Regions from separate parts of the Homo sapiens genome. Here region 1 is linked to region 2. The links are contacts of gene promoters, found by promoter capture Hi-C in blood cells and fetal thymus (Javierre and others, 2016). All regions are on one chromosome and are shown on one strand. The core of a region is centred on a gene start or on the middle of the fragment in contact, and the rest is flanking DNA. Distances in the headings are between cores, read along the strand shown. Region 1 overlaps KDM3B (lysine demethylase 3B). Region 2 holds the start of KDM3B (lysine demethylase 3B).

Region 1 (5,728 bases), core at 791-3,290, 71 kb after region 2:
AATAAAGAAAAATAAAAGAAAAGGAGAAAAATAATAAAATATAAGTCAGATCATATCTTAACCTCTGCCTGAAATCCTTCAAGGGCTTCCTTTTTCTCTCGTAAGATGAGCAGAGTCCTTGTAGTGCTTACAGATGAGTAGAGTCACGCACCTGGACTATGAGGCCATAGCCCTATCTGTTCATCTTGCTCTCACCTCCCTGTCTTCAACTACCACTCTCTGTTCTGTTCACTCCGTTCCAGCCACACCCACCTTCTTGCTGTTCTTTGAACATGGCCTGGCATGCTCCCTCTTCAGGGCCTTTGCACTTGTTATTTCCTCCACCTAGAATTTCTTTCCCATGTAACTACCTCACTTGCTTCATCATCAGCTCCCTCACCTAAACCTTCAGTAACCCTTTCTTCATACATCACCCTTTTTAAAATTCCATCACACTGTCAGTTCTGCACATACCGATTTTCCCTGCTTTGTTTTTTTCACAGCACTCATTACCATCTGACCTATTACATGTTTGATTTTCTGTTTCTTGCCTCTCCTAAAGGCATTTTTGACTGTTCTATAATATATCCCTAGTGCCATGGTGTTTGATCCAGTCATGTTTAGTAAGCATTTATTGAATGAATGAATTCATAAGGTACAATATCTAAAAGATAGAAAAGAGGCTGGGCACAGTGGCTCACACCTGTAATCCCAGCACTTTGGGAGGCTGAGGCGGACAGATCACTTGAGGTCAGGAGTTCGAGACTAACCTGACCAACGTAGCAAAATCCTGACTCTTTCTAAAAAACTACAAAAATTAGCCAGGCATGATGGCACATGCTTATAATCCCAGCTACTCGGGAGGTTGAGGCAGGAGAATCGCCTGAACCTGGGAGGCAGAAGTTGCAGTGAGCCAAGATCGCACCACCGCACTCCAGCCTGGGTGACAGAGGGAGATCCATCTCAAAAAAATAAATAAAATAAAAAAGGTTTCGACTGAAAAGTTTCCTTTGCACCCTTGCCTCCCAACCACCTGTTTCCCTTTCTAGAAGTCTCCAGTGTTTCTCGAGATATTATCATATGTATGTTTTTCCCCTAAATGTTCTACACCTTGCTATTCTGATTTTTAGTTTATATGTCCTGCAAATCATTTCAAGCGAATACATAAATACATTTCTTCTTGGGTTTTATGACTAATGGCTGAAACGTGATGAACTGTGGGTGACTGAGCCCTCTATACAATTTGGGTTATTTGTTTCTCTTTTGGATAAGTAACTTTTTTTTTTGAGACAGTCTCACTCTGTTGCCCAAGCTGGAGTGCAGTGGCACGATCTCAGCTCACTGCAGCCTCCACTTCCCAGGTTCAAGCAAATCTCCTGCCTTAGCCTCCCGAGCAAGTAGCTGGGACTACAGGCACGTGCCACCACACTGGGATAATTTTTGTATTTTTAGTAGAGACAGGGTTGGCCACCATGTTGGCCAGGCTGGTCTCGAACTCCTGACCTCAGGTAATCCACCTGCCTTGGCCTCCCAAAGTGCTGGGATTAACAGGCATGAGCCACCGTGCCCAGCCTGGATAAGTAAATTTTAAAAAGCAAACAAAACAATTACTTTGGGTACCGTTTTATGTATACTTGTTCATCATACTGCCAGTTCTTTTTCTAATTCTCCCATGATGTTACATAATTATACATACTTTATAGAGATAGGGATTAGTAATACTGTAAGCATAGGATTATCCAGTTTATAAAAGCTTCCCTACCTTCAGTTCTGTGACCTTAGGTATGTCACTTTCATCTCTGGGCCTGAGCTTTCCCATCAGCTGAAACAGGTGAGTGATTCTCAGTGGGATGGTAGTGAGGAAAAAATTGGAGAGTAGGAGACTGCTTTCAGAATGTACTTCCTCTTGGACACTCTGCTACACCCTTCATTGAGGTACTCCCTGGTAGAAAACCATTGCCTTGATAAGTCACTTCAGTTACTTAATTGAAGTATTGTATCCCTTGGGCATGCTGGTTAGGAAAAATTTAGAACCCTCAAACTGAGTGACCTTTTTACACTCAGTTACAGCATTTGATGATCCCTACAGTCTACATGCATGTGTGCTTTGTATACTGAATGGCTGATGCCAAAGGTATTTCTTAGGTCTCAGATCTCTCGAGGCAAAAGGGATCTTTCTATACTTTTCTTTCCTAAATGTTAAGGTAAAATATGAAGGATAAAAGAATTTAAGATGTTGACTTATTATCCCCCTTCCAGTTGTAAAAGACATTTTAATAATTTTTGTAGAATTTAATCAGACAGGTCAGAACTCCTTGTGAATACAATTGTGAGACAGTTTTTTGAATGCCGTTCTCATGGTGCCTCAGTCAAGCTTACCTGGTGGATTTGTGTCTGGCAGGGAGTGAAGAGCAAGGCCAGCCTACCCAACTTTCTTGACCACATCATTGCCTCAGTGGTAGAAAATAAGAAAACCTCAGATGCTTCAAAGCGGGCCTGCAACTTGACTGATACCCAGAAGGAAGTGAAGGAGATGGTGATGGGGTTAAATGTGCTAGATCCCCATACTTCTCACTCCTGGCTTTGTGATGGGAGGCTTCTGTGTCTCCATGACCCCAGCAACAAAAACAATTGGAAGATCTTCCGGGAGTGTTGGAAGCAAGGTCAGGTAAGCAAGAATAAGTCGTTCCAAGGGCCAATTCTCTGCCTGCCTACCACAGATACCTGGACAATTCCAGGTCTCTCTTTTTGCCAGGGAGATTTAGACATAGTGAGGTTATTGTAATAGCCTTGCTACTTCGAGTTGTCTTGGATTTTTAAAAGCAAGGAGATGGCCAGGCACTATAGCTCACGCCTGTAATCTCAGCACTTTGGGAGGCCAAGGCAGGCGCATCATCTGAGGTCAGGAGTTTGGCCAACATGGTGAAATCCTGTCTCTACTAAAAATACAAAAAAAATTAGCTGGGCATGGTGGTGGGTGCCTGTAATCCCAGCTGCTTGAGAGGGTGAGGCAGGAGAATCACTTTACCCGGGAAGCAGAGGGTGCGGTGAGCCAAGATCATACCACTACATTCCAGCCTGGGCTACAGAGCAAGATTCCACCTCAAAAATAAATAAATAATAAATAAATAAAAGCAAGGAGATTACTAAAAACACACTTTGCATCCTCTTGTTTCTAAGCTGTATAGTTCTGTGTTCTTAAAAAGGCAGTTGAAATTTCTGTTAGGTGGTGATCTGGCATTGATATCTTTAGAGAAAAATCCTTAAGTGTGATTTTAAGATGGGGCAGAGAAGGGGTTGGAGGTAGGTAGTACTTTTCTAGGCAAATGTTTTAAGGCCACACAAGTTTTTTGATAGTGTGATAACACTCCCTAGTTTAAAAACTTTAGCAGGTGCTTGAGGAAGGGGAGCTCATGGCATTGTCATTTTCAATATGAGGAAGTGTTCTCAAAGTTGGACTTGTCAGATTTTTGTCCTTTCACCTTAAAACAATGGTAGGTATTAGGGCAACAGAAGTGATTTCCCCAGGGTGAGAATGAAGCATAACAATGGAGTAGAAGCATTTCCTTTCACTTTAGTTGACATGTGGAAATCCATGGATTATACAACTAGGAAAGAACAGTAGAGCTTCCTGGAGAAGAGGAGGCCCTCCTCAGGAAACCCTCCTATTCTGTCTCAGCCCTAGAGCTGGAAGTTTTTCCTAGATTGCTCTGATTGGGATATTTTTGTTTCCACAGCCAGTGCTGGTTTCGGGGGTACATAAAAAGCTCAAGTCTGAGCTCTGGAAGCCAGAAGCCTTTAGCCAGGAATTTGGAGACCAGGATGTAGACTTGGTGAACTGCAGGAACTGTGCTATAATTTCCGATGTGAAAGTTCGGGATTTCTGGGATGGTTTCGAGATCATATGCAGTAAGTAGCTTTCATATCTAGTTCAGTGATAGCAGACTGGAAAATAAGCATCTATACGCCCAGCTCTGCCCTTGAATAATAAATTATATTCTGGGGCATAATGGGACTTGAAAAAATAAATGAATAAAAAATTAAAAACAGACAGCCGGGCGTGGTTGCTCGCTCCTGTAATTTCAGTCTTTTTGGAGGCTGATGTGTGGATCACTTGGGGTCAGGAGTTCAAGACCAGCCTGGCCAACTTAGCGAAACCCCACCTCTACTAAAAATACAAAAATTAGCTGGGTATGGTGGTGTGTGCCTATAATCCCAGCTACTCAGGAGGCTGAGGCAGGACAGTCACTTGAACCCAGGAGGCAGAGGTTGCAGTGAGCCAAGATGGCACCACTGCTCTCCAGCCTCGGTGATGGAGTGAGACTGTCTCAAAAATAAATAAATAAATAAATCCAAATTATACCCACTTGGTGGGGGAACATTCTGCCCTGGTGCCAACTGTGTAGCTTACATGGCAATCACATGACTCCCAGAGCATGCCTGGACTTAATCATGTGATTCCATGGGCTATGCAGAGCACTTTCACTCTGAGGAATGGGGATAGAATCCCCGTAAGATGGAAAAATAAGACACACACTAAAGTAGCAAGTGAGGAAAACAAAGCCCACCTTGTCCATTATGGGGGTTTACAAGTCTGAAATAAAAGGTTAATCTCCCAGGGCCAGGCACGGTGGCTCACACCTGTAATCCCAGCACTTTGGGAGGCCGAGGCGGGTGGATCACAAGGTAAGGAGATCGAGACCATCCTGGCTAACATGGTGAAACCCTGTCTCTACTAAAAATACAAAAAAATTAGCCGGGCATGGTGGCAGACACCTATAGTCCCAGCTACTCGGCAGGCTGAGCCAGGAGAATGGCATGAACCTGGGAGGCGGAGCTTGCAGTGAGCCAAGATTGGGCCACTGCACTCCAGCCTGGGCAACAGAGCGAGACTCCATCTCAAAAAAAAAAAAAAAAAAAAAGATTAGTCTCCTAGGCTGGGCGCAGTGCCTTACGCCTGTAATCCCAGCACTTTGGGAGGCCAAGGCAGGCAGATCATCTGAGGTCAGGAGTTTGAGACCAGCCTGGCCAACATGGCAAAACCCCGTCTCTACTAAAAATACAAAAATTAGCCAGGCGTGGTGGTGGTTGCCTGTAATCCCAGCTACTCAGGGAGAATCGCTTGAACCCGGGAGGCCAAGATCATGCCACTGCACTGCAGCCCGGGTGACAGAGCAAGACTCTGTCTCAAAAAAAAAAAAAAAAAAGAAAAAAAAGAGATTAGTCTCCCAAAAGTTACTGTTGAAAATCGGACACCAGCCAAACCAGCAGATGTTTGTGGGAGTATTCTCTGTCTTCCAGAACGACTACGGTCAGAAGATGGGCAGCCAATGGTGCTCAAACTCAAGGACTGGCCTCCTGGGGAAGATTTTCGAGACATGATGCCAACCAGGTTAGTGACCTGCAGTGGTGTCATCTTCAGAAGCCATCACAAAGTAATCACAGAAAAGTGAAATTTGTCTATTGGCTTTCTTCCCCTATAACAAGCTAAGTCATCTTTCCTGCACTTTTATAGGTTTGAAGATCTGATGGAGAACCTTCCTCTGCCAGAATATACCAAACGAGATGGCAGGCTCAATCTGGCCTCTAGGCTACCTAGCTACTTTGTAAGGCCTGATCTGGGCCCCAAGATGTACAACGCCTATGGTATGAGGGAGAGGCTAAAATTGCTCTTTTGGGGGACTGTTGTTCTTATTTCAACTATAGAAGGATATCTGTGGTCAATGTCAGGTATAGAGATGATTGCAGG
Region 2 (5,890 bases), core at 2,001-4,500:
GCCAGTAGGTGAGTATCCCTGTGTGTGTGAGTGAAGCCACTCCCCAGGCTGGTGCTCTCCTCCTGTGCCCAGTGACTGCCCAGTGGCAGCTCAGCTGCCCTTCACTCCCACCTGCTGCCAAAGTCCCTGTGCTAATGGGATTACAAATACAAAAAGTGGAAAAAAATTTTCGTAAACTTTGTTTTATATTAAAAGAAAAATCCATAAGTCTGTGTGTGTTAAACATGAGGTTCTGCCTCTGTGGCTGTGTTTGAAAAAATAAAGTTTTATTAGAATAATCCATTTTCCCAAGCAACCTTGTGTACTACAGTGTCTTCTTCCCTTCCCCACAAAGACAAGGAAGAAGCAGGGTAGAAGGCCACCTAACTGTTCCAGCCCCTTCATCTAAGATGTGGGTCAACCTTTCAAAAAGGGGCAGTATTTGGACCCTAGGCCCTTTGCCGGCCATGGCAGGATGTTATACTGTGGCCCAGGCTTCTGCTAAGGCCTTGGTTATTTTTGGCAGTCTGGTTTGGTCTCTCTTTCCCTGGCAGTTATACTTGTCTCCTCCTGCCTGCTGTCACTCTCACTTCCAGCAAGTTGAAGTCAAGTATGAATGCATTCCAGCTCCCTGAGAAATGGTTTATGGTACAGTCAGGAACTTGTCTAGATTGGTTTGTAGGCTTTGGGAAGTAGGGAGAAGGCAGGGTGGGAGACAGCCAGGGATCTTTCTTAAGTTTTCACATGTTACATCCTGGAGAGATAGAGGTTTAGTCATCAGAATTCAGATTCCATAGACCTAGGCAATTTTTCCATCCTAAAAATACTGCTTTTGGAAAATAATCCTAGCTGCAAAGCTTCTCTTTTGTTGTAGAAGACAGTATTTTCCCTAATGTTTCCTTTGGGAGTGTTGGTTTGCCAAAAGAAGCTATGTGGCTCACTCTTTAGACCTTTCTGTTCCACCCTTTCTTCTCTCTATGTTGACATTCTTCCAATGTGTGTGGGTGAAGTGTAGTTGCTTAGAGATCCAGGCAGGAGCCTCTGTCTCTAAGGCTTAGCCTTTCTTTACCAGTTGTGGTGCTAATTTGCCAGGCAGCAAGAAGAGTCAAGTTGCTTAGCTTATGTCCTGGTTTCCTGCTTCAAATTGGTGGCACTCATCATTGAATACCAATGAAGTGTGTGCAGGACAGGACTGACTTGACTACCTGGAGCAGGAATCTTTGCAGGGGTGCACATACACCCTAGAAAAAGTGAGGGTTGTCACCTGCCCTGGAAACAAAGGAAGGGCTTTGGGGAAGTGGTGGGCAGTGGCATGTGGTTAAAGAAGCTTAGAATTACAGGGTTTTTTTTCTTTAAAACTGATGTTTCATTTCACCTACTGCTTGAGCAGGGGTAAAGTTTGAACATCTAAAATGACTTTGTTTCCCCCTTTTTTTCTTTTGAGTTTATTTTTGTTGGATTTTTCTGCTATTTTCTGTGAGGCCAAGTGTGATTTTATTTTTCATTCCTGAAGTCTTGTTAATATAGGAAAGAACGTAAACTCCATGAGGGCAAGAGTTTTGTTTTATTCAATATTGTGTCCCCAACACTTTGGGAAGTTCCTGGCACATGAAAAGTGCTGGTCACATTTGTTGAATGCATTTCCCTTTTGCCTTTCCCATCCGTGAACTTAGGTACATTTCTGTCTCTCTGCTGTGAGAAACTAGCCTTGGACATTGGGGCAGTAGTTAAATCTCTGTATGGGAGAAAATCCCAGCAGATAATTTTGATAGAAAAATTGCAAGGCAGATAGATCTTGTATGGATTCACCCTTGTTCCCCTCCTACCAACTACAGCTTATGGGCCATGTGCTTTAAGAGGTGGCTCTCAGCCCAGAAAAACATTCTGAGTCAGGCCTCAGGTTGGCTGTGGGAGATGGAAGTTAAAAAGAAGTGGAGGGAGGAATGTTTCCTTGGTGCTCCACAGGGTTGGTTCTAGAATGATTTTCCTATATGTTTTATACTTTAGTAAAAGTATAAAGTCAATAGTTGGTTACCCCTCTCCCCAAGCCTTTGTTACAAGAAAAGTAGGTCAAGGGTGTAGACAAGGTTATGGACAGGAGATAGCTGGGGTAGGCACAGAAGCCTTGGAGAAAGAACCAGCTACCACTATTTCCTGTCTGTAGGGAAAATCAAAAAGTCACTTTTAGAACAACAGTCATGGGTTATTACTATACCCTTTATCTTTTGTATCCATTTTGTGTATACTCAGTCTCTGCATCCATGAGACCATGGAATGTGCTAGTCCCTGATATTGCCAGCTTTAAATGATTGAGGCAATTTCCTGTTGCTTATTGTGGGTAACAATCTAGCCAAAAATCTCAGCATCTCACTTTCTCTGCAGGCTCCTTTTCTAATCAGGAGCTATCAGTCTCCCACACCTGTATTAAATGCATTCAGATAAGAGTTACAGAATTTTCTTTGCCCCCAGCCCCACTAATTCCATGGTAAGATGGAGTGCTACTAAGAGAACCCCTTTACTGTTGGTCTATTTCCAGTTCCCCTAAGAGTTGAATGGAGAAACACGTAGACTTAATAACATTGGCAGACTAGGAAGGGGAAGAAGTTAGGTCGGTTTTAGGAAAAACACCAAGATGTTGGGGGGCACGTTGGCCTTCAGTCAGTGGAAAGAGTGGCATTATACATCCAATGGAAGTAATACATTGGCCAATTGGAAAGGAACCTAAGAAGTGCTGGCAGTATAGAATGGGATGGTGCTGTTATGGGCCATTGAGAAGGAAGACATTGTGTCTCATGGACCAATGGGGAGAACATTTCCTACAAGACAGCAGGTAGGAGCTCATATTTTCAGGATAGGAAATCAATGGGGGTATTGGAGACACTAAATAGCTCAAAACATCCACTCTCTAGGTACCTTGCCCCTCACCCCCTTACCCCGTAAATGTCTTTGGTATCCGAGGAGAGCAAGCTAAAGCCCTCTCATATATACGACTCCCTGAAGGAAGATTGAGACCAGGGATGATGCCATGGGGAAGCTGAAGGACCCGCCCACTTCCCTACCCCGGCCGGACCTGCAATTCCCCTCCAGACCGCAGGGGGCACTGCAGGCCCCGGGGAGATTGGGGCGGAGCGCTGCGAGGGGCCAGGAGCTGTCGCCCCGCTCCAGAGCGCGGGGGGCGCTGTGCGGGGCCCAGGCTGCGGCTCCGCTCCCGGCCACGGGGGGCGCTGCGCTGCGCCGGTGGTTGGTGGTGGCTGTTGGGGGGGGTGGGGGGGAACGGCGGCCGCGGGTGGTGCGGAGGGAGGCCTTGCGGGCGGATCGGGCGCTTGGCGGCGGAGGTGGTGGGAGGCGGCGGGCGGGAGCGCGGGTCAGGCCGGCCCCGGCGATGGCGGACGCGGCGGCCTCCCCGGTGGGCAAGCGGCTGCTGCTGCTGTTCGCGGACACTGCGGCCTCAGCCTCGGCCTCGGCTCCCGCGGCGGCAGCGGCGAGCGGAGATCCGGGGCCTGCGCTGCGCACTCGAGCCTGGCGGGCCGGCACGGTGCGGGCCATGAGCGGGGCGGTGCCCCAGGACCTAGCGGTGAGTGGCGGCCGAGTCGGGCACTCGAGGCCGGGGCTGCGGGGCCTGCGGGCGGCCTCCCCGGGGGCCTTTGTGAGGGGGCGGTGGGATGGGGGTGACCCATTTCCGTGCCCCCGGGTCTCCTTAGCGCCCCCCGCCGGCACCTCCGCACCCCGAGCGCTTGCCGGCATGGCTTCCGCGTCGGGGTGTGCGCCCCGGTTTCCCCCGGGGGGCGGCCAGGGCGTCCGGAGCTGCTGCTTGCAGCCAGCAGGCCCCGCCTCCTGGGCGACCCTTTTCTCGGCGTTCCCCCCAACACGCCTTCGGAGCAGGCTCTCGAATCTTGAGCTCCCGGGAGCCTCAGAGTTCGGCCAGTGTTGCCGCTGCCCTCTCGAAGACGCGGACCTGTGGTCCCCAGCCTCTCCCAGGAGACCTGCGCCCTGTTCCTTTTCTCCCAGAGCCCCAAGTGGGGCGGGAATGTGGGCAGTTATGGGAGGCACGGAGGCTGCAGTTGGAGCTGGTCGGGGCTTTTTTATCTGGCAGTTACTTCCTCATCTGAGCTGGGCTCGGCCTGGCGGTCTCCAGAAAGGCCAGCTCTCGGCACTGTCTCGAGCTCTCCTCTCCTTTCCTTAACGCTTCTGGGTGACAGGAGCTGCAGTTGTGGCTGTTTTTGTTAAGTTTGAGATCTTTCTTAGTGGCCGAACGGGGCTGCTGGGTAGTGCTTTTTGCTCCCAGCTCAGCTACTCCCCCAACCTTGGGAGAGGTTTTGTTTTGAAACTTTGTGTTTGGGCTTGGCCCTTTTTGAATGCCTTGGTGTGTTTTGTGATTAAAGTTGTTCAGTCATACAACTTAACTAGCATTCGGGATCATGATGTGTTATTCTCGTTAATGTGGCGGTAAAATATAGTGTTTGAGTTTTGGCAAGCCACTTTATTTCCTCATTTTGATAGGGGCCCTAGCTTCTCTGGTGAGATAAGGCTATGAAAAATGGTGTGTGTGCGTGTTGGGGCAGGGGGTGGTCTTTTGGAATGTAATAGATCAGCAAGCAGAAAGTAAATTTTCTTGATGAACTTGCTTTTGCAGATATAAACGGGAACGCAGTTTGTGAGATTTGGAAGTAATGTTGTAGGCTTCCGATGTTCATTTTTCTTCCTATTGATCAACGGTGTTAGACTGTCCTTTTTCACTAATATACAAGCTTTATGGATTTTTTTTGTGGATGGCTTAGGCTTTGCTTCTGCTACTTGGGTTCATTTGCTTTGATTTTTCTTCATGCTGTATAAGAAACGTTACTAGGACATTTATAAGGCCTCAGTGGGGCAAATTTGCAAAAAGATACTAAAAATTTAAGGGGATGGAATGATGATTAAGACTGGGATTTGGATCTCTATTCCTCTGCGCTTTCTTTAAAAGATGGCTGGGATGGGAAAAGAAGTGTCCATTTCAGATTCATTCTACCACCTTGGAGGCAAAACATACTTAAGATCCACTATTATATGCATACTTTGACCGAAGGCCTACTTTGCCCTAGCTATTCATTGGGATTTTTTTCTGGTTCTTGCAGTGGTCGTCTCGTTTCCTCCATCAGATGAATTGCTAATGAGCTCTGCACCTGAAATGGCTCCCCATTCACTTTGTCGTTTGCTGTGCTCCCTAAGGGCAGAGGATTTTGGAGCTCACTTCCTTGCTGGACACCCACTAAGCTAAATACTGAATAATTTTACCACTGATCCCACGGAACTGGGTTCTCAAACCAAGTAAAAAGTTGCAGTGATTCTTGGAAATTAAAGCAAAGAACATTACAGCTGTGTTGAGGTCTTGCATAGGGCTGTGTGAATGTAGAAGCAAAGGCAGGTTTGTATTTTGAGAATACATTTATGCTTGTCTTACATGTATATCCAGGGACATAGATGAGAAAACAGCCAGACCAAAACTCAGAGCCTTTAGATTTTTTCACCAGCTTGCAAAATTGTTCAAGAATTGGTATTTTGTTGAGGTTCTATTAATGACAATGACCAGTGTAGGATGAGAATGGGCCGTTTTCTTTTTTTCTCATTAAGAGAGATTTCCTTTGGACCGTAGGCATGTGGACCTTTCCAATTTGCACCACACACGGTAGTAAACACAACTGTCTTCCAATCAAAAGTGTTCTTCCCGTACTCAAGGGTGGAGTTTGCAAGCAGCTGGCCTGTGATTGGGCAGATTTTCATTCAGTTATGTTTAAGATGTTTTCAGGCATGCTTGGTTTTGAGTAATGCCTAGCAGGGCGCCCCCTTTTAAGGATGAGTAATTGAGGGTTGGATGAATGAGTTTCTGAAGTGATTGAAAACACACTTCTTAATTTTAGATTCCACGAATACA

The links. The method cuts DNA at HindIII sites, captures the fragments that hold promoters and counts their contacts. A CHiCAGO score of 5 or more calls a contact.
Region 1: a contact is called between a fragment that was not itself captured here and the fragment with the promoter of KDM3B in region 2, in 1 of 17 cell types (endothelial precursors). The highest score is 5.0, in endothelial precursors.

What each region holds. Positions count from the first base shown.
Region 1 is chr5:138,421,695-138,427,422 of GRCh38, forward strand. KDM3B (lysine demethylase 3B) reads left to right here. Exons shown (of 24, transcript NM_016604.4): 16 at 2,381-2,647; 17 at 3,717-3,888; 18 at 5,281-5,371; 19 at 5,495-5,625. Among named protein-coding and RNA genes, the nearest start is that of REEP2, 14 kb to the right of the region's middle. The HindIII fragment of the contact is 621 bases long and covers 1,731-2,351 here.
Region 2 is chr5:138,349,435-138,355,324 of GRCh38, forward strand. KDM3B (lysine demethylase 3B) reads left to right here and starts at 3,251. Exons shown (of 24, transcript NM_016604.4): 1 at 3,251-3,553. The coding sequence starts at 3,362. It overlaps FAM53C (family with sequence similarity 53 member C), which reads left to right. Exons shown (of 5, transcript NM_016605.3): 5 at 1-295. RefSeq lists silencers at 2,951-3,030, 3,051-3,290, 3,371-3,840 and an enhancer at 4,091-4,190. The HindIII fragment of the contact is 3,421 bases long and covers 1,305-4,725 here.